5 separate regions of the Homo sapiens genome follow, and regions 1, 3, 4 and 5 are each linked to region 2. Evidence: promoter capture Hi-C in 16 types of primary human blood cells and fetal thymus (Javierre and others, 2016). All regions are on one chromosome and are shown on one strand. Each heading gives the region's core, a stretch centred on a gene start or on the middle of the fragment in contact. The rest is flanking DNA. Distances are from core to core; before and after follow the strand shown.

Evidence for each region. Contacts are between HindIII fragments. The CHiCAGO score rates a contact against its expected background, and 5 or more counts as called.
Region 1: a contact is called between a fragment that was not itself captured here and the fragment with the promoter of PLCB4 in region 2, in 1 of 17 cell types (megakaryocytes). The highest score is 6.5, in megakaryocytes.
Region 3: a contact is called between a fragment that was not itself captured here and the fragment with the promoter of PLCB4 in region 2, in 1 of 17 cell types (megakaryocytes). The highest score is 5.8, in megakaryocytes.
Region 4: a contact is called between a fragment that was not itself captured here and the fragment with the promoter of PLCB4 in region 2, in 3 of 17 cell types (megakaryocytes, erythroblasts and M2 macrophages). The highest score is 10.4, in megakaryocytes.
Region 5: a contact is called between a fragment that was not itself captured here and the fragment with the promoter of PLCB4 in region 2, in 1 of 17 cell types (megakaryocytes). The highest score is 8.3, in megakaryocytes.

Annotation. Positions count from the first base shown.
Region 1 is chr20:9,328,309-9,331,911 of GRCh38, reverse strand. All of the region lies in intron 4 of PLCB4 (phospholipase C beta 4), which reads right to left. Among named protein-coding and RNA genes, the nearest start is that of LAMP5, 180 kb to the left of the region's middle. The HindIII fragment of the contact is 865 bases long and covers 1,838-2,702 here.
Region 2 is chr20:9,067,837-9,071,494 of GRCh38, reverse strand. It overlaps PLCB4 (phospholipase C beta 4), which reads right to left and starts at 2,408. Exons shown (of 40, transcript NM_001377142.1): 1 at 2,289-2,408. The HindIII fragment of the contact is 10,687 bases long and covers 505-3,658 here.
Region 3 is chr20:8,794,838-8,798,404 of GRCh38, reverse strand. All of the region lies in intron 31 of PLCB1 (phospholipase C beta 1), which reads right to left. Among named protein-coding and RNA genes, the nearest start is that of RNU105B, 35 kb to the left of the region's middle. The HindIII fragment of the contact is 1,524 bases long and covers 723-2,246 here.
Region 4 is chr20:9,349,252-9,352,659 of GRCh38, reverse strand. The region is part of intron 7 of PLCB4 (phospholipase C beta 4); the gene reads right to left. Among named protein-coding and RNA genes, the nearest start is that of LAMP5, 160 kb to the left of the region's middle. The HindIII fragment of the contact is 6,190 bases long and covers 1-3,408 here.
Region 5 is chr20:9,368,993-9,372,514 of GRCh38, reverse strand. PLCB4 (phospholipase C beta 4) reads right to left here. Exons shown (of 40, transcript NM_001377142.1): 10 at 1,220-1,301; 11 at 112-212. Among named protein-coding and RNA genes, the nearest start is that of LAMP5, 140 kb to the left of the region's middle. The HindIII fragment of the contact is 4,180 bases long and covers 1-3,522 here.

The DNA.
Region 1 (3,603 bases), core at 1,021-3,520, 260 kb before region 2:
TGAGAGTCTAGAATCACTTTTGCTGGAGATCACCATTGCTAGAAGCTATTTCTGGCTCAGAGATCCCCACTCTGAGGGGTTTGTGCCACTACAGGCTTACAGAGACACTTCCCTCTCTTATCAAAGATAGAGTATGTTTTTCACTTGTGTGTTATTTTTAGTATATTTTCCCTCACACATGCTGTTTCAACATTAATCAATATCACAACCTATTTTTCAAAGATTCAAGTTACTTTCAAATCAACTAACATTAAACATTTTTCCTTTATTTCAATTTTTAAAGTGATTCTGTTCAATAAAGTTTAATCCCCTCATAAGGAATGTCAGAGAGTTCAGCAGGCCAAATACTCTGATTGAAGTGGAGAAATTCCTTGGATGGGGATACAGCTAAGTGGTAGCTGATTTTATTTTAATTGTGAGTTGTAGTTATTTCTTACCCTTTCTCTCTTGCCCTCTCTCTCGCCATCACTTCCTAAGTTAACTGCAAATGTCTGTATCTTATACTGTGGAGTTGGCATCTTCAAATAGGGCATAGTCAAGTCTTATTACCAGCTAGGGACAGCTATTTTGGACCAGATCATAAAAGCTTTAACTCTACCTTATTTAAACATGAGTTGGCCAGGGGCTTTTCTGTGTTTGTCACTGGACAGATACATTAGGACGTAGAGAAATGTGAAATGGAGTAGGCATTCACATTCCATCACAAAACTGCGTTTTCTGGGAAAGAAAACCTTCAGAAGAGGTGGCAGTCCACAGTGGTTTTGAGATCCAGGCCTTGTAGTGGTTGGTTCCTGGGTTTGCATGTCAGCCTCCTCACCAGGCAACTGCTGGAGAATCTTGCAGTTATTCTGCTTAACCTTGCCATATTTCACTTTTCCTAGCTGTAAACTGGGAAAACTGATACCGACTCACAGGGCTTTCAAAGAATTAATATTGAGAATGTCTAAGTACCTGGGACAAAGTAAATGCTGACTAAATGGTCGTACTTATGAGAAAATAGCTACAATTTTAGGGCTCTTGTTGTGAGGTATTTCACAAATACTATCTCACATAAATCTCATGATAACTCTGCAAGGTTTTAGACTAGATCAACATTGTCCAACGGATTTACCGTGATGATGGAAATGTGCCAGATGGGTTCTGCCCAATACGTTCACCATGAGCCACAGGGAGCACTTGAAATGTGGGTAATGCAACCAAGTGCTGAATTTTTTATTTTAATTAATTTTTCATTTAAACAGCCACAATGTGGTTAGTGGTTACCATATTGGCCAATGCGGTTTCAGAGAGAAGGGGGGAAAAAGGTTCAGAGGAGACTAAATTATTCAAAGCCACAGTCAAATAGTAACAAACCTGAAATTCAAGCCAGCTTCTCTGATTCCAAAGCCCATGCCTGTCTGACTTGGGCAAACTTGACCAAGCAGGGCCCCTCTGCCTATCGCCAGAAGATTGTTGGACGGTCAATAAACGAACACTGCCTAGGTAGACTCCACTAGGTACATATGAGACTCACCCTCCTTGCTTCCTGGTTTGATAAGAATGGAGAGGAAGTTAAAAAGACCTTGTCAAGGTTGGAGAGAAACAAAGAGGAGTCTGAGGAAGAGGCCATAAAGGATCTCATTCAATTTAAATCACATTATGCGTGACTACCACCAAAGAGACCTCATAAACCAGGGAGAATGATGGGTGTGGCCTTCAGACTGGGAAAGCAGGTGGAGTCTGGTTTGGAATTAACCAAGAGGTCTAGCTTTCTATCAGATCCTGAAAGCTCAGAGCCCAAGAGATGCTTTATGGCTTATTTATTTCCTCTCCTTATTCCAGGGAAATGCTTTAAGCTTCATACCTAGCAGATCCTTTGTGATTCTGCACAAACACCGCCTCTCTCAGAACCACAAATTTTTATTTTTTTCAAGTTAAACTAAAGCCCTCAGTGATAACATCCTGCCATCAGAATGATTTATGGACTGATGTAATAGATGGGCATGGGTCCTTATTAAGTTGCTTTTACCCTCATGAGCTTGGTCTCTTGCTTGGAAGGATATAGAATGTTCATTCCATTTGTGCCTCTCCTATCTGCTTTAAGATCCCAGGAGATAAAGGACACTGGGCCTCTCAGCTCACATTCCACATGAGGAGCCAGAGGGCACGGCTGTAGCTGCTCCATCACAGACCCTTGCTATGTGCTACAAGTATTACCTTGTGAAAAAATCTGTCAGACAAAATAACAGCATGTGTAGCTCCTGCATTCCTTTTGATGGCCTTTGATTCTTTGGACAGATGTTCCTATTGGGTTAAGTTGTTAAATATAGACCTTTCCCCCTTCCACCAGTAACTGATGCTCAGCTGGAATCCAACAGGGAGATGCCGTTCTAGTCTCCTGATGAGCAATTCAAAAGGCCTGTGGCACCTAGTAATATGCCTACTATTGCTAGGTAACATACACAGTGCTTCCTAAGAGCCAGGCAACGCTCTAAGTACTTTCTCTACATTAACTTATTATCCTCCCAACATTCCTATGAGGGAGGTACCATTTTTATTATTGATATAGGAGCTAGAAAGAAATTATTAGGCAGATAGTGTCAGTACAAGGAGTCTTCGGCAAGGCTTCCCTTTTAATAAAAGTAGCCCCCAAATCATTTCTTTTCTAACAAAGAGCAGCCTGAAAAACCGAGCTACAGACATAGATAAACAAGCTGGAAGCTTGTACAGGTGAATGCTGGCAGCTGCGCCAAGAGAAGGCTACCTGGAAGCCAGGTATGTTCAACACGGAGGCTCCATCTTCCCTTTTCTTTGTCACCACGTGTACAATAAGGACGAGGCAACATGGCACCAGCCAGCTAGAATAACCATCTGCATAATAAAAGATTAGGGTGGAGTGGCCAGCTTCTTTGCACACTTGCAAATGGCATGCCTCCTCCAACCGATCTTTCATCCCCTGTGTAAATCACATACCCCCTCCTTAAGTTCATTTATTAAACTTTCTGCATTTCACTGCGGAAGTGGCAACCCATTTTCTCCAGGAGCCCTTTCTGTGCAGAGAGCTCTTCTCTTTCTTTTGTCTATTAAACTTCCACTCTTAACCTCACTCTGATGTGTCCACGTCCTAGCTTTCCATGGCTGTGGGACAACGAACCTCGGGTATTACCCCAGACAAACAACGCTGCTTCACTATTTATACCTATTTTACAAGTGAGGACATTGAGGCATGCAGATCAAATGTTTTGAACAATATGCTACACCTGCTTTGAGGCTGACACATGAAAGACTGACAGTGTTCAGGAGTGGGCTCAGGTAACTGCTCAGCAGTCGGCTCAGGTAACTGCTCAGCAGTCATACCTGAAGAAGCCTCTGCTATTCTCCTTGCCACTGATGCCAGCAATCATCACAAAGGATCAGATGGGTTTCTGAAGTGTTTTGGTTTTAATTACTGCATTTCTTATGGATTCCCCGTGAATCCTACCACATAGATAACTGAACAACTGTACTACTGAAACATTCTGTACTTATTACAGTTTTTTATGGGGGAGTGTATTTTGTAAGAATTCTGTAAGAATTTTTTTTCAGATCCTAGGACCAGGAAAAACTCTGTTCCTACTGACCTGT
Region 2 (3,658 bases), core at 1,159-3,658:
TGTGATCACAAGGAAAACAGCACAGCAGCCCTGAAGCTCACTTTTACCTCAATTTTACTTAGAGGGTGAGGTAAAGATGAATACCAGGCAAACATTTCAATTCTTAATAAATCAAACCCCAAAATGAAGTTAGTGGTATCTTAGGAAAATACCATGTTTACTGAAATTGCCAAATATAACTGTCCCATGTTGCCAAAGTCAGCAGTATACATTAATCTAAAGACAGTTGTGTGTAATCTTGGGAAAGGCAAACTAGCTGTGCTACGGGCACTGAATGGACTCTGCTGTGGTTGAAATATTTCAGAGGTGATACAAATTTTTAAAATCTTTTCCTGCAAAAGGTTTTTGGTAACCTGTAACACTTTTTCAACTACCATATTTCTTTATCTCATAAGGCAAAAACACACCGCCTCACGATTCCAGGACATGTAAGCAGTTTAACATCACTCACATTTTCAGGCATATAAATATAAAACTTCCAATAGAGTATTTTAGAACAAAGCTTTCTGCGTGGGTATGCATTTGCAAAATAAAGGTAGAGTTATTCCGACAGATTTAAATGTGCACCCAGTGATCAAATGGAGTTAGAAATTCTGTTTTGACAGTTACTTGTAGAACAGCATTTTCAACAGCGATTAATTCAGAGCTGGGTAGTAATACCATCAAAACTAAGTTCCAACTGTTGAGTAATAATATAGTTGGAAGGAAGTGTAGTCCATAAGCTAATACATGGTACCTTTAGATATGTTATAATACGTCACATTCAAAAGGTTACTCGTCTGGCAGCAAGTCTTACGTTCATAAAAGTGCCAATAAAAATGTTTTGCCATTTCAAAAAGTGATTTTTTATGAAAACAGGTGCTCTCCAAAGATGGCAATCATTTATTAAACTACTACAGTTCAAAAGGAAGATGATATAATAGATCAATACACCAGCTAAGGATCATGCAAGACTGTCCTATGAAAAACAGCATTCTGGATTACATAACACAGATAGTGAGGGATTACACCACATGCCCCTGCTGAGCTAGACTTTTGATCTTCTGTATGATTCTATAACTGAGGCCACTCAAATTTGAAGAGTATAAAATATGAGGGTCTCAGTTCAACCACACATTTCTGAAAACAGCCGTCTTGAAAACAATAAAAGAATAAAGTTAAAATTTTACCTTCCCCCGCAACACACACACAATTTTTCTATTCTGAAAAACACAGTTGTTCAGATACTTTCTTAACCTCCTTGGAGCCTCCCCAGGTAAAGTCACCAGTTGCTTTTCCTGGTCATGTTTACATTATAAATCTGATTTCTCTTTAAGGGGAAATTCAATATCATTTTAAAATGATACATAGCTGCCTATGTTTGAATAACGTTATTTCCAGACAAAAAGAATTATTAAACAGCTATCTCCACATACCTATAACTTAAATATATAGACCACTAAGTATTACGTATATGGAAAAAAAAACACCTTTCCTGAATATTCTGGCCAAAATTAAATTTCAAATACATGTTTTAGAACAATAGCTAGAATCACTACAGAAGTTAAGAGGAAAAAAAGTTGGAAGAGTAGGGTCATCTTTCAGATATATCCATATTTATGGAAACTATAGTGGGCAGTTGTATTTCTCTCTAGGAAAATGCTAGTTTTATGATTCTAGATAAAGTTGCACTTAAACACACTTGGAAATTAGAGAATTCCATATTTCCATACTTCGATTCAGTACCATATACGAAGTCTACACTCAGAAGTATTGTACTATACAGAGTCTAATTGGTTAAAGCAAAAGCAACTTTAAAATTCTGAAAATAAGGATTTCCTTCACTAACAGGCTTTTAGGAGGCCCGAACCCTGCCCCCAATGAGTGCTAAGCCTGTCAGTGTTGTTTTAAGTGGAAACGGTCAATCATTTCTATGATTTCCCCAGAAGAGGCAAGAAGATCCACACGCATACACATTTACATGCGTTGCACGGTGCCAACTATTTCCAACCAAAATAATCATATACACGTCGAGCCGAGCTATTTCTAGCCCAGAAGAGGGTGAACGTCTGGAGAGAGTCTGAGGAAACCCAGCAGGCGATGACTGCAGGGGAAGGGGGATGGCGTCTGGGTCCCCTGCCTCCCGCGCGCACAGGGCGCCTGGCACCCGGCACCTGCACGGGGTCCCCGCTGGGCATCCGGGTGCGCGCGCGCGCGCGTCCGGGACGCACCCGCGGAAAGCAAACAAGCCCTGAGGGCCAAGGCGGGCGGGAGCATCCTCGGGCGGGACCCGAAATGCCTTTTCCTACCTGTCACTTTGCCTGGAGCTGCTGCCGGGGATGCGGCGACGGCCGCTGCCTGGAGACCCAGTGTGTACGCGCGTGTGTGTGCGCGCCCGTGTGTGCGTGTGCGTGTGTGTGTCTGTGTGTGAGAGATCTTGTTGGCGGTGCAGCTCACTTACTGCTCCCGGCGCGGCGCCACCACCCCCTCCTCGCCATAAAGAGCCGCCGCCAAGCCCCCTCCCGGCGCACCCCAGTCCCGCCCTCCCGCCTGCCTCCGCACCCCCTCCCTGGCCTCCCCGCCTCCCCGTCTCCGCGCCGCGCGGTCCTTACCTCAGTTGAGGGCGGGGGTCTCCGCCGTGGCTCCCCAGCGAGCCCACGGGGCAGCGCCGACCCGCCCGCCCACCGCCGGGCCCTGCGCGTCCCCCGCTCCGGGCCCCGCCGCCCCTCAGCGGCCAGCCGCTTCCTCCTCCCCTGCCCCCGAGCCTCCCTCCTCGTTCTCGCCTCCCGGCTCCAGAGCCCGAGCTGTCGCCTCGCAGCCCCAACCTGCCCAGGCTACGGAGCATGCCCAGTGCGGCGCGCCGGGCTGGGCTGGGGGTGGGCAGGGGCCGGGCCGGCCGCCCAGTTGCCGCGAGCCCGCAGGGCGAGGAGTGGGCGCCGACTGGGTCGGGGGCGCAGCCTCGCGAGCCGGGGGCCGAGCAGCCGAGGCAGGTGGTGGGCAGCGCCAAGAGGAGGTGGGTGGGGCATCCGGGGAAGCCGGCCCGCGGCGCGCTCCTCTGGGGTCTCCCTGGCGGCTCCCCGCGGCATGTGCCCCATGCCCAAGGGTCGGGGGCGCACGGGATGGCGCTGGGCGCAGAACCCAGGGAGCGGGGGCAGAAAAGCGGCACCCTCCTCGGATGGGAGACCCGCAGCCCGCCGTGGGCCGTGTGGAGGGGCTCAGGACTGGCCAGAACGGGGCCCCCAAAGCCGTTGGCTGGGTGGGGGACGTGCTTATTTGTTTATATTCGGTTTCATAAACCCATACAGCGCCTACAATGCGTCCTGCAGTGTTCTAAACGCTTTTTATTCATTTAATCCCTAAAACAATCTTCCAAAGAGTACTACTGCCTCTTTTTATTTCGCGGGTCTTACACAGAGCCACAGAGATTAAGTGGTTCCAAAAAGTCTTCCCACAAGTGCAACCTCAGACATGCAAATCCCCCAGACTTTGGTCCCTGGGATGCTGGGGTGCTGCTCCAGCCAGTTCCTGGCTTTTCCCGGCCCTACAACGGCCCCCAGGTGCCTCCGAGTCACACTCACACCCAGGCCCTAATGGTGTTCGGTCTGGCATCACCCTTGTGTGGACCCTCACAACGTGCTGCTCCCGAACTCCGGAGGGCTCCCTCCTCCCCACTCCGCCT
Region 3 (3,567 bases), core at 235-2,734, 270 kb after region 2:
TACTGTCACACACACACACAATCTTTTACTGGCTCTGTTTTTCTAGTTGAACCCTGACTGATACAGATGTTAACTAATTCAAATATTTCAGAAATGCAATGTGGGGACTTTCTATTTCTGGTAATGGCTGATTAGGTTATTTGGACCATCCTTTCCACTGAAAAAAATTAAGAAGCTGGGTTTGATACTAAAGCTTTTTTTTTTTTTCGATATAGAGTCTTGCGCTGTCACACAGTCTGGAGTGCAGTGGCATGATCTCGGCTCACTGCAGCCTCCACCTCCCAGGTCCAAGCAATTCTCCCACCTTAGCCTCCAGGGTAGCTGGGATTACAGGTGCACACCAGCATGCCTGACTAATGTTTGTATTGTTTTTAATAGAGTCAGTGTTTCACCATGTTGGCGAGGCTGGTCTCAAACTCCTGACCTCAAGTGATCCTGCTGTCTTGGCCTCCCAAAGTGTTGGGATTACAGACATAAGCCACCATGCCTGGCCATTAAAACTATCTTTAAAGACCCAGAGAACTACAACAACTTAATGATCAGGGTCAAACTGAAGGGGACATTGAACCTAGAAAGGTAATAAGCAAGGAAGCTGCTTTTGCCCTGATAGGCTTTTGCTCATGATGGAAATTGTGTGTTCACCCTTTGATAGCCTTGAAAGGTGAGGAGCCTACAGTCAAGAGCTGAGGCTTTCCCAGAGTGAGAAATCTCACAGGAAAGCTTCCCTGCAACAAGCTAAGACATACAGATTATATATTTGAAAATAAACCAAATAGAACATCTGGAAATAAAATACAAAACCTGAAATTAAACACTCAGTGGATGCATAGAATAGAAGTTTAAACAAAAAATTGGTGCATTGCAAAAAGTGTAGGAAAAAAAATTGCCCACAGAGCAGTAAAGAAAGACGAAGGATGGAAAATACTAAAAACAATTCATTGACAGAGGAGATGGAGTAAAAAGGTTCATTTTATTTTATATGCAAATATATATGGAATCTTAGAAGGAAAGAAAAAAAATGACAGAAGCCATATTTGCTTTCATGATAGTTTAGAGTTTTTGCAGAACTGAGGAAAGTGATCCATCTAGCCATCTCAAACACATATTTAGACACACTATAGAAAAACTGCACAAAATGTAAGAAAAAAATACTAAATGCTGTCGGTGGGGGGAGGGGGAATATAAATTATCATCAAAAGAACTGTATTAAGACTAACAGTTAACCTCTCAAGAACAGCAATAGATGCTAGAGGGTGGTGGAAGTTTATCTTCAGTGTGCTAAAGGAAAATAACCACCAACACAAAATTTTATATCCAGTGAAAATATCATTCCAGAATGGAGGAAATGTAGATTCTCATCTATTACTACATTAAACAAACAAAGACATTTCTGCACAAAAACAAAAATAAAAACTCCAAAGAGTTTCCCACCAGTAGACCGCATGAAAGGAACTTCTAGAGGAAGTACAAGATGATGATCCCAAATGGGCAGAAGATACAAGAAAAAACGTTTCACAAAGAATATGTGAATATGTAGACATATCTAAATGAACCATGATCAAAACATAGAATAATGTCTTATGTGTTTAAAAGTCTATTAGATTAAATTTCAAAAATAAACTGATGAGGGACCAGTGGAATTAAAATTGTTCCAATGCCCTGGTATTGCCCAGAAGGAGAGTAAACATGTCTAAGTTTTATACTCAAGAAAATAAGGCATAACTATATTTGTTTCCTAAAAAGGCAATTCTTTATATTGACAAAAATGAAAAAGAATTTTCTTCTACAGAACAAACAAAAACAAACCACTGTGTGGTTAATTGAGACTTGACAATGAGCAGAAACACTGTCTATAAGCAGCCAGTTTCCACTCTGCAAGTTTGGCTTCTGGGAGAAGATCCAATAAGTGCTGGCAAGGAAGAATCCATTTCCCCATCAAGCCGCAAAAGATTAGAGGAGGCACAAATGCATTACTTTAAAAAATATTTTATTTTAAATCCCGAAGTTTGCCTTTTCTCTCCCAAACACAGGAGATATCAGCCGCATTTAAGGTTCTGTCTCAGAGCCCAGCGGTAGGTCTAACAAGACTAACTTCAAGCAGAGGGATGAGTCAATCACCCTGTTACAAAGATGTCAGAGGGGAAATAAGGAAAATCAGTCTATATTCCCTTGGTGGAGGGAAAAAAAAGAGCCAGTAGCTACATGATGAAATGTTCTTTGGGAATGAATTAAAATGCCCTAAAGCTTCCCGGAATTCTCTCTTGATGATGAGCTAAATTAAGCAGAAAACCTGTGTTCTAAGAAGCATCAAAGACAAATTAAGCATCAGAGAAAAAGTAAATTACACATTTATTGACTGTTTTATGAGGTTATGGAGATAGTTCATTAAATATTCCCCTCAAAAGATGATTCTTCTTATAAAGAGAGTCAGGAGCAGCAAAGTGATCAATAAACATTGGCATATTCACAACAGACTCAAGGCAACTTGTGACTAACCGTGTTTTCTTTTCTTTTTTTTTTTTTTTTTGAGACAGGGTGGTCTCACTCAGTCGCCCAGGCTTGAATGCAGTGGCGCGATCTCGGCTCACTGCAACCTCCGCCTCCCGGGTTCCAGTGATTCTCCTGCCTCAGCCTCCCAAGTAGCCGGGACTACCAGCGCCCACCACCACACCTGGCTAATTTTTGTATTTTGGTAGAGATGGGGTTTCCCCATGTTTCCTACTGGCTTTGGCAAACCCAGGTATGGAAATCCCCAGGAAACCAATTATTTCACTGAGTCAGAAGACTGGCCAGTGTTTACTGCGTCCATCTTGAAAATTCTACCACTATGGATTTCATAAAAAGCCACAACTCAAACAAAACTGAAACCCACATACACTCAAGGACTGAATCGAATATCTCATTGCTAGAAAACATGCAGTCGAATGTTTCTCCAGAATTCAGAACTCTACTGGAAAGGAGCCAAGTATTCCCTTCTAAGAGTGTCTCTTGTTGTTTATAACATAATAAGTTTCCATGGGACTTATGTGCAGCAATGTACAACATCATTTTGTGTCAAATTGAGGCCAAAATATTTTATTGTACAAGTTGCTTCGAGGGACCACCTACTTCTGTTTTCCCCAATGCCCTCAAAATTACCTACAAAATGAATAAACTAATTGAATCTCTTTTTTCATAGGGAAAAAATGAACTCTCCACATGAAAAGATCCTAGTGCATGTCACAAAGTGGGACAATCTAAAATAAACTTTTCCAGTGTGACTGGCCACATTTGGTCCCCTACCAAATAGCGACCAGAAAGACTTAAGGTCCCAGCTCACATGCAGAATTGAAACAAATTTTTAGCCTGATTTTGATTGAGGCATATTCTCCTATGACTGCTATTGCAGGATGGTAAAAATGTTGGGAACTCTAGATGACATGCCCATTGTTGAGTAAACTGCTAGCAAAGTCACACTTTGAATGAGGTTTCATGTGTAGTTTGCTCTAAATTGAGCCAGAATAAATACTTCTTTGCCACTGAAAAACTGTTAACTTTGAGCCATTGGCTTTTCAAATTTCTTTTGCT
Region 4 (3,408 bases), core at 211-2,710, 280 kb before region 2:
ATTCCTAGACAAAATTAATTTAGTCACTCCCAGAGAGTCAAAACAGTCTATCAGCCTTGCTGGTTATCTTGACAACACTGGCCAGTTAGGTCAAAAAGAGCCTCTAAATAGTCACAAGAAAAAAGAGGACACCTGTGCTGTTCAGAAGCTGCAGTCCCAAACTTCCATACCAAATGGCTTTGTTAGCATTCCTTAGACACAATTTTTGCATTGCCTAAGCCTGATTCTATATATTAATAGATACCCTGTAGCAATGTCCTATTGGATCTATAGAATCTTGTCACAAATAACTGCATCTATTTCCAAATATCTACTACAATAAATATACTGTTATGGACACAAAAGATCAGGAGGGAAAAATGTATACATAGAGTATACTTACATTAATGCCTATATTCACTTGTGCTTCTGATTTAGATATACAACACATGATGTTCTTTAGTGCCTGAAAGTCCACAGACCAACTACATTCCTACATCCCCAGAAATCTTTCAAAAATAAAATAAGATTTTTGGTTTATTTTATGTAACATTATTTGGCATCCAAATGGAAAGCTCTAGAAGAATGGAGGGATTTTAAAATGTTGAGAAAACCAAAAGCATCATCTTAAGCCAGTCAGCAACCATCAGTTTTTTGACAGCATTACTTTTGGACTCAACTCAGTCAAATTTGTGAAATTCTGTTGGTATGGGATGAGTAAACAGCTGGTGAATTAAAAGGTGTTCATAGAGTTGTTTCTTTAGTTGATGGCCTGTATTTATCGGTCACATTCTTCCTGACAGGTACCTGTTGACAATGTTGGCAAATTAAGTCATGCCAAAGTAAATAGTATTTCAACTTGATGACAATCATACCTGCTTAGTCTGAGATCAATATAATCAATCAAGAAGCCTTTGTCTAACTCTTAACTAGGCAGCATCCACCAATTTAGTTCAAGCAAATCAAATCTATAGGTAATTCTATAAACTAAATAGGACTTTCAATATAAGAGCTACTAAAAGGAATCTAAATCGGTGGGCTTGAGTTTCATTACCTGGTTCTCTGTCTTTTAAGGTAAAGTCTCCCCACACACAGCAGAAAACAGTGAGGAGTGAAGACAAGTGGAAGTGGAAAAACAGGGAAAATAAATAGAATATTTATGGTAAATATGAATAAATGAATCCTTAGATTACATCATTGTTTTGATACTTCTAGAAAAATATTGAGCTGAATAATGCCTCTATGATATAATTTACTGACTTTTATTCAGTGCCACACTGGTTCTGAAAGATGTTAATGGTGTCTCATCAAAAAATTAAAAAAAAAGTTTAGGAAACAGCTGAATAGCTTTCTTCCTTGCTGAGATCCACATAAGAATAATACTTCTTCTGTTGATGGGTGCAGCACACCAACATGGCACATGTATACATATGTAACTAACCTGCACGTTGTGCATATGTACCCTAAAACTTAAAAAAAAAGAGTAAAGCACTAAGACTCAAATATATCTGAGACCCAGCTCCTCCAAAAAAAAAAAAAAGAAATACTTCTTCTGAAAGCACTACCATAAAGAAACCTGTCTAAAGGCTTTCTCATGCTTAGCTGACCAAAGAACCCCCTTTATATGTGGACTTTTTTAAGGAATCCTTTTTTCAGGCCACTAATTCGGGAAGTACTACTGTATGACTATAGCTCCCACAGATAATGATCTTAAAACATTTGCCTAAAAAGTACATTAACATCACACAGTGTTACAGGTGAAAGAGGCTGTTCCCCCCACTCCCTGCCCCAGTTTTTATACAGATAAGCTAAATCAGCCAACTGGCTGTGCACGGTGGCTCACGCCTGTAACCCAACACTTTGGGAGGCCGAGGTGGGTGGATCACTTGAGGCCAGGAGTTTGAGACCAGCCTGGTCAACATGGTGAAACCCGGTCTCTACTAAAAATACAATAATTAGCTGGGCGTGGTGGCATGCACCTGTAATCCCAGGTACTTGGGAGGCCAAGGCACAAGAATAACTTGAACCCGGGAGGCAGAGGTTGTGGTGAGCTGAGAACACACCACTGTATTACAGCCTTGGGGGACAGAGTGAGACTCTGCCTCAGAAAAAAAAAGAGAAAAAGAAAAAGAAGCCAACTGTGAATTGCAGCACAGGGTGGTGGTAGAATTCAGGATCTAGAGCACTAGAGAGAGCCACTGCCTGGGCTCAAAACACCACTTACTGGACGTATGGCCTTGAAAAGTCAAGTTACTCAACCTCTCTGGGCATCTTTATTTGTAAAATGAGGATAATCATAATACCTATCCCACAGACTTGTGAGAGTTAAATGAGATAATACATATCAAGCACTTTGAACAGTGTCTGACATACAATATAAACTATTTTCCTGCTGCTGCTGCTACTATTATTAGTATTATTATTAGAGACCAGCAAATCTTTTCCATTAAGAGCCAGATAATAAATATTTTAGGCTTCAGGGGCACACATAGTTCCATGTTGTCTAGTTTTCCTGTTTTTTTTTTAAATTTATTTTTTAAACATCGCTTCAAAAATGTAAAAGCCATTCTTAGTTCACAGGACATACAAAATTAGGCTAAGGGTTGTGTTCAGCCCATGGCCTGCACCTGCCGACCCCAGATTATGATCATTAAATTACTGGCTCCAGATCATAGAGCTTGGAGGCAACAAAGTCTCATGTAATACAAGGGATTCTGCCCACTTCTTCATGCCATCCAGTTTTTAATTTTGCCACACAGATGAGAAAACATACAAATACATGTAGGCCCATGTCAGCATACATTATGTTTCCAATGGCAATTTTTTGCTGGCACTGGAAACTGGGGCTATGTGGAAAATGGAAAAGCAATTTAAAGTCAGTGACATTTTTCTCTCCCAGGGGCCAAAAGGTGAAATACAAACTTCACATTATGCTTCTAGTGCAATTAGAGTAATTCATTTTGCATTCCCTTGGTGGAGTCATTTGATAACACTTGCAACTAGGACAAAATGAGCTTCTCTGGGCTGGGTCTACAGTCTCTTCTTATGAAACCTGTCAAGTTCATGAAATGCAGTGGTGAGAAAGGCTCCAGCACTGAAAACCATGTGCCCCATGAAGAGCACAGCATTTCAAACACAACTGTGAAGGAGGCTGGATGATTTCTAAAACAGCAAGAGCTGAGCGCCCATGAAAATCCACCTCACAGATCATGGGGATTTGCGGTTACATTGAAACCTAAGAAAAAGTTTTAATTTAAACAGGAAAATTCATATAATAAAATGCAGTATATTAAACAGCATGAGTCCAACTGCATATAAAAAGGAAAGTGTGTGGGGAATAAAAAGACTCATTAGAGTGGTTATCAGCGCTGTGGGGAGAGGGGATGGGGAGGAACCCGCTTATTGGGCATGCAGTTTCCTTTGAGGGTG
Region 5 (3,522 bases), core at 248-2,747, 300 kb before region 2:
TATTCCTAGATGCTACCAACATACTCTATTAAAATAGGACAAAAACGTTTTAAAAAATCGAAAAGGACAGTGATAATATTTATATGGCACTTCCTCATAAGTGGAACTTACATTTTTTTGAAAAGATCTTCTATATCTGTCCGAGGACAAATCTTTTGTGTCAGTTCATAGAACTTTTCATAAGAAAATGCTGTGGGCTCAATTTCATCATTCTGTAAGGAATAAAATCATGTTATGAATCACAGAACCGTTTTTCCCTTGGAGGGTGAGAAGCTACAGGGTCATGAAGCACAGTGAAGACCACTTGGACTCAGGGTCTTCATCTCTGATTCCTGCTGACAGAAGCCAGGAGGCCAACTTCCAGGCACTGCCAGGCCATCTCACTAAAAAACAGTGCGTGTACATCAGTGTTTCTAGTTATCATGCTGCCAGATTCTGTGTGTGCGAACACCTGGCTACAGCTGGCCTTGCTCTGGGAAATACCCCAAAGAACGAATATAAATATTTCCTCCAACTCACCTTGAGGGAGAAAAGTGCCTGCCTGAGGGATGCTGAATAAATCAAGCCCAAGGTTTAATTATGCTTATTTTGTGAATTTTTGCAAGACCATGTGAACGGGCTTAGGGTAACCATGTAAGATTTTACTTTTCAAACTGAAATTTATATTTCAAATAGGACTTATTAAAATAGTACCAGGCTTCAATCTTTCTTCAAGTCAATAAATTAATTTCAATTATTTTAAATTTGAAGGGCCATGAATACAAATGGTGCGGGGAGAGATGCTTCACAAAATATTGCATAGCCATCTTGTAGAATTGAATTTATTAGTTAATTATTCATGCTAATGTTGTGCCTGGTTGAGGCAGTGTTGGTGAGCTTCTCTAAAATAAAAACTGTGTAACACAGCAAGCTGGCCTTCATTTCCTTTTCTTAAGAAAGGTGACAAAAATCATTTGAAGCAAACTATTTACATTTTTAGAGATTTAGGTTAAAATGCCCAGGCAACAAAAGGAAGGAAGGGAGGAAGGAAAGGAGGGAGGGAGAGAGGAAGGGAGAGGGAGGAAGAAGAAAGAAAAGAAAATTAACTGTACTATATGTCACTGACATATAATTCCAAATCTAATTTAGATCAGTTTAATATAAATAATCTAGCTCATTACATATGAGAAGATAAATAAACAAAATGGTTTTAGAAATACATTATTAAGTTAATGCATACCTTTCCACTGGGAAGACCTAACTCCTTGAGTGCTTGAAAGATCACCTTTTCTGTTTTTCCCGATGCAAATGTTCTAGTAATACTAGGGCAGAAAAGAAAGAAACACACATTCCAGTTATTGTTCATTATGTTTTCTCTGATGCAAAGATCCAGGTCCTACTATGGAGAGTGAGACTAGGGTAAAAGGAAGAGGAGAATAAAATTACCTCTCATTGCAGATGTTTTTCATTTCCCAAACTAGTTCCTCCAGTGTCCCTCTGGTTCCCAGAGCTGGTTAGTCTAGTGATGCAACTTGAATCTAAGACCAGGGGTCCCCCTGGTGCTTGGGAGAACAAGGGGCAAGCGGCACTGGAGGGACACACATTTATTTTTTATTTTTTATTTTTTGAGACAGAGTCTCACTCTGTCACCTAGGCTGGAGTGCAGTGGCGCTATCTCAGCTCACTGCAACCTCTGCATCCCAGGTTCAAGCAATTCTCCCGCCTCAGCCTCCCAAGTAGCTGGGACTACAGGTGCACGCCACCACACCTGGCTAATTTTTTGTATTTTTAGTAGAGACGGGGTTTCATCATATTGGTGAGGCTGGTCTCAAACTCCTGACCTCAGGTGATCCACCCACCTCGGCCTCCCAAAGTGCTAGGATTACAGGCATGAGCCACAGCGCCTGGCCTGGGACACACATTTTTGGACAAAAACAATGATAAATTCTGATGCTACCAAATTGCCTTCTTATGAAAAAGGAATGTGGCAGATAAGACAGTAGCTCTAGAACAAACCCTCATGTTGACAATAACTGGGCCTAGGGAAAAGGAGGCGGCCCCTTACAACTCAATCCATGCCTTCAGTTGTCCTTATCCTGGTTCCCACACTTAACCACAGTTGACACGGGCGTGATCAGACATATTTTGTTCTTGTTTTCAAGCTAAGCACCCTTGAGCCCCTCTGAAATGTCAGCTGCCTCAAGGATAAGGGACTTTACTGTCAACATGATGGGTTGGGTGAGGGGGAAGGGGAACAATTATCCAATGTTTCAACAAATCTCAGTAGTACCCCAAGACATAGTATTTTTGGATAGCCTTTTAACTAGAACAGTGAGCATCAAGGCTAGTAGAATAGATAACACCTTGATGAACACACTTCCTGGTGATGATAAAAGTTAGGAGAGACTCTCCATTATAAATGTGTTGGTGCCACTCAGAATGAAAGCTATTGAGCAGAGGACTTGGTACCCTGGAACACCACACTTGGCTCTGAGCCATACCTTAGCCACCAAGGAGCCTTCAATCGCTCCCTGATTGGAAGCCCAGGTAATGTGTTACCATGATAATTTCATTTTAACTCGACATTCAGAAGTCCAGCTTGACTTGAGGATGGAGTTTTACTTCTATCCATGAGGGCTGGCTTTGGAATGCCTCCCCTGTGAGCACAGAAGGATTTTTAACAGCATCTCATGCCCAGCGTTTTTGTACTTTCCGCCATCCGTGCTAAGTAGAAGGCAAGTTCTGAATGAGAGTGCTGACAGTTCCTCTTCCTGAGTGGGAGAAAGCACCACTTCAGTGGCAGAGTAGGACTTCCCAAAATAGACTAAGAAGTAGCTGTAGGTAAATGAATTATGTGTTCATTCACAGCTTTATTGTTTCATGCCAGGTCCAAGAATACTTCAAGAAGTACATTTTTAAGAGTTCTTGAGACAGTTGTATTCAAATATAAGGAGGCCTGTGAATTCTCTTTAACAAATCTACAAATATGGGAGAGAATATGTGTGTGACATCAATAAATGGTTAAGATTCCTAGTATAGAGGGTGCTATGTTTACATTTTTCATCTCTAGAGTTCAGGTAATTTTTATACATTAAATTTGGGGTAAGACAAAAATTTTGTAGCCTTTTTAATTTAGGGGAAAGTAGCTGTTCAGGGTGACTATTATTTCATAAAAAGTTTGTGTTAACCTAGCTAGTAAGACTCTGGCAGGATCTGGCATTTGCTCTCAGGAGAACAATCTTTGCATAGCAATCTCAGGGGTATCCCAGCTAACTGAAGCCTCTGTTAGGTTTGGACATGCCTGGCATAACGAGATGAAAACTGATCAACGTGGGCATGAAATCAGCGGGTGTGGAGACTGAGCCTTTCTGGTGAAACAGAACCTGGGTACCAATAGCTTCTGTTTCCTACACAGAAATTGAATCTTTTGGCTAGGGTTTGGCCAGGTGCCAACAAATAGAAAGTAGAAGAATGTCTCAAGGGGAAGGGAGATGGAGGGGGCCAAGAAGGGAGATAATATCGTGGCTGTGTTTCATGGGAACA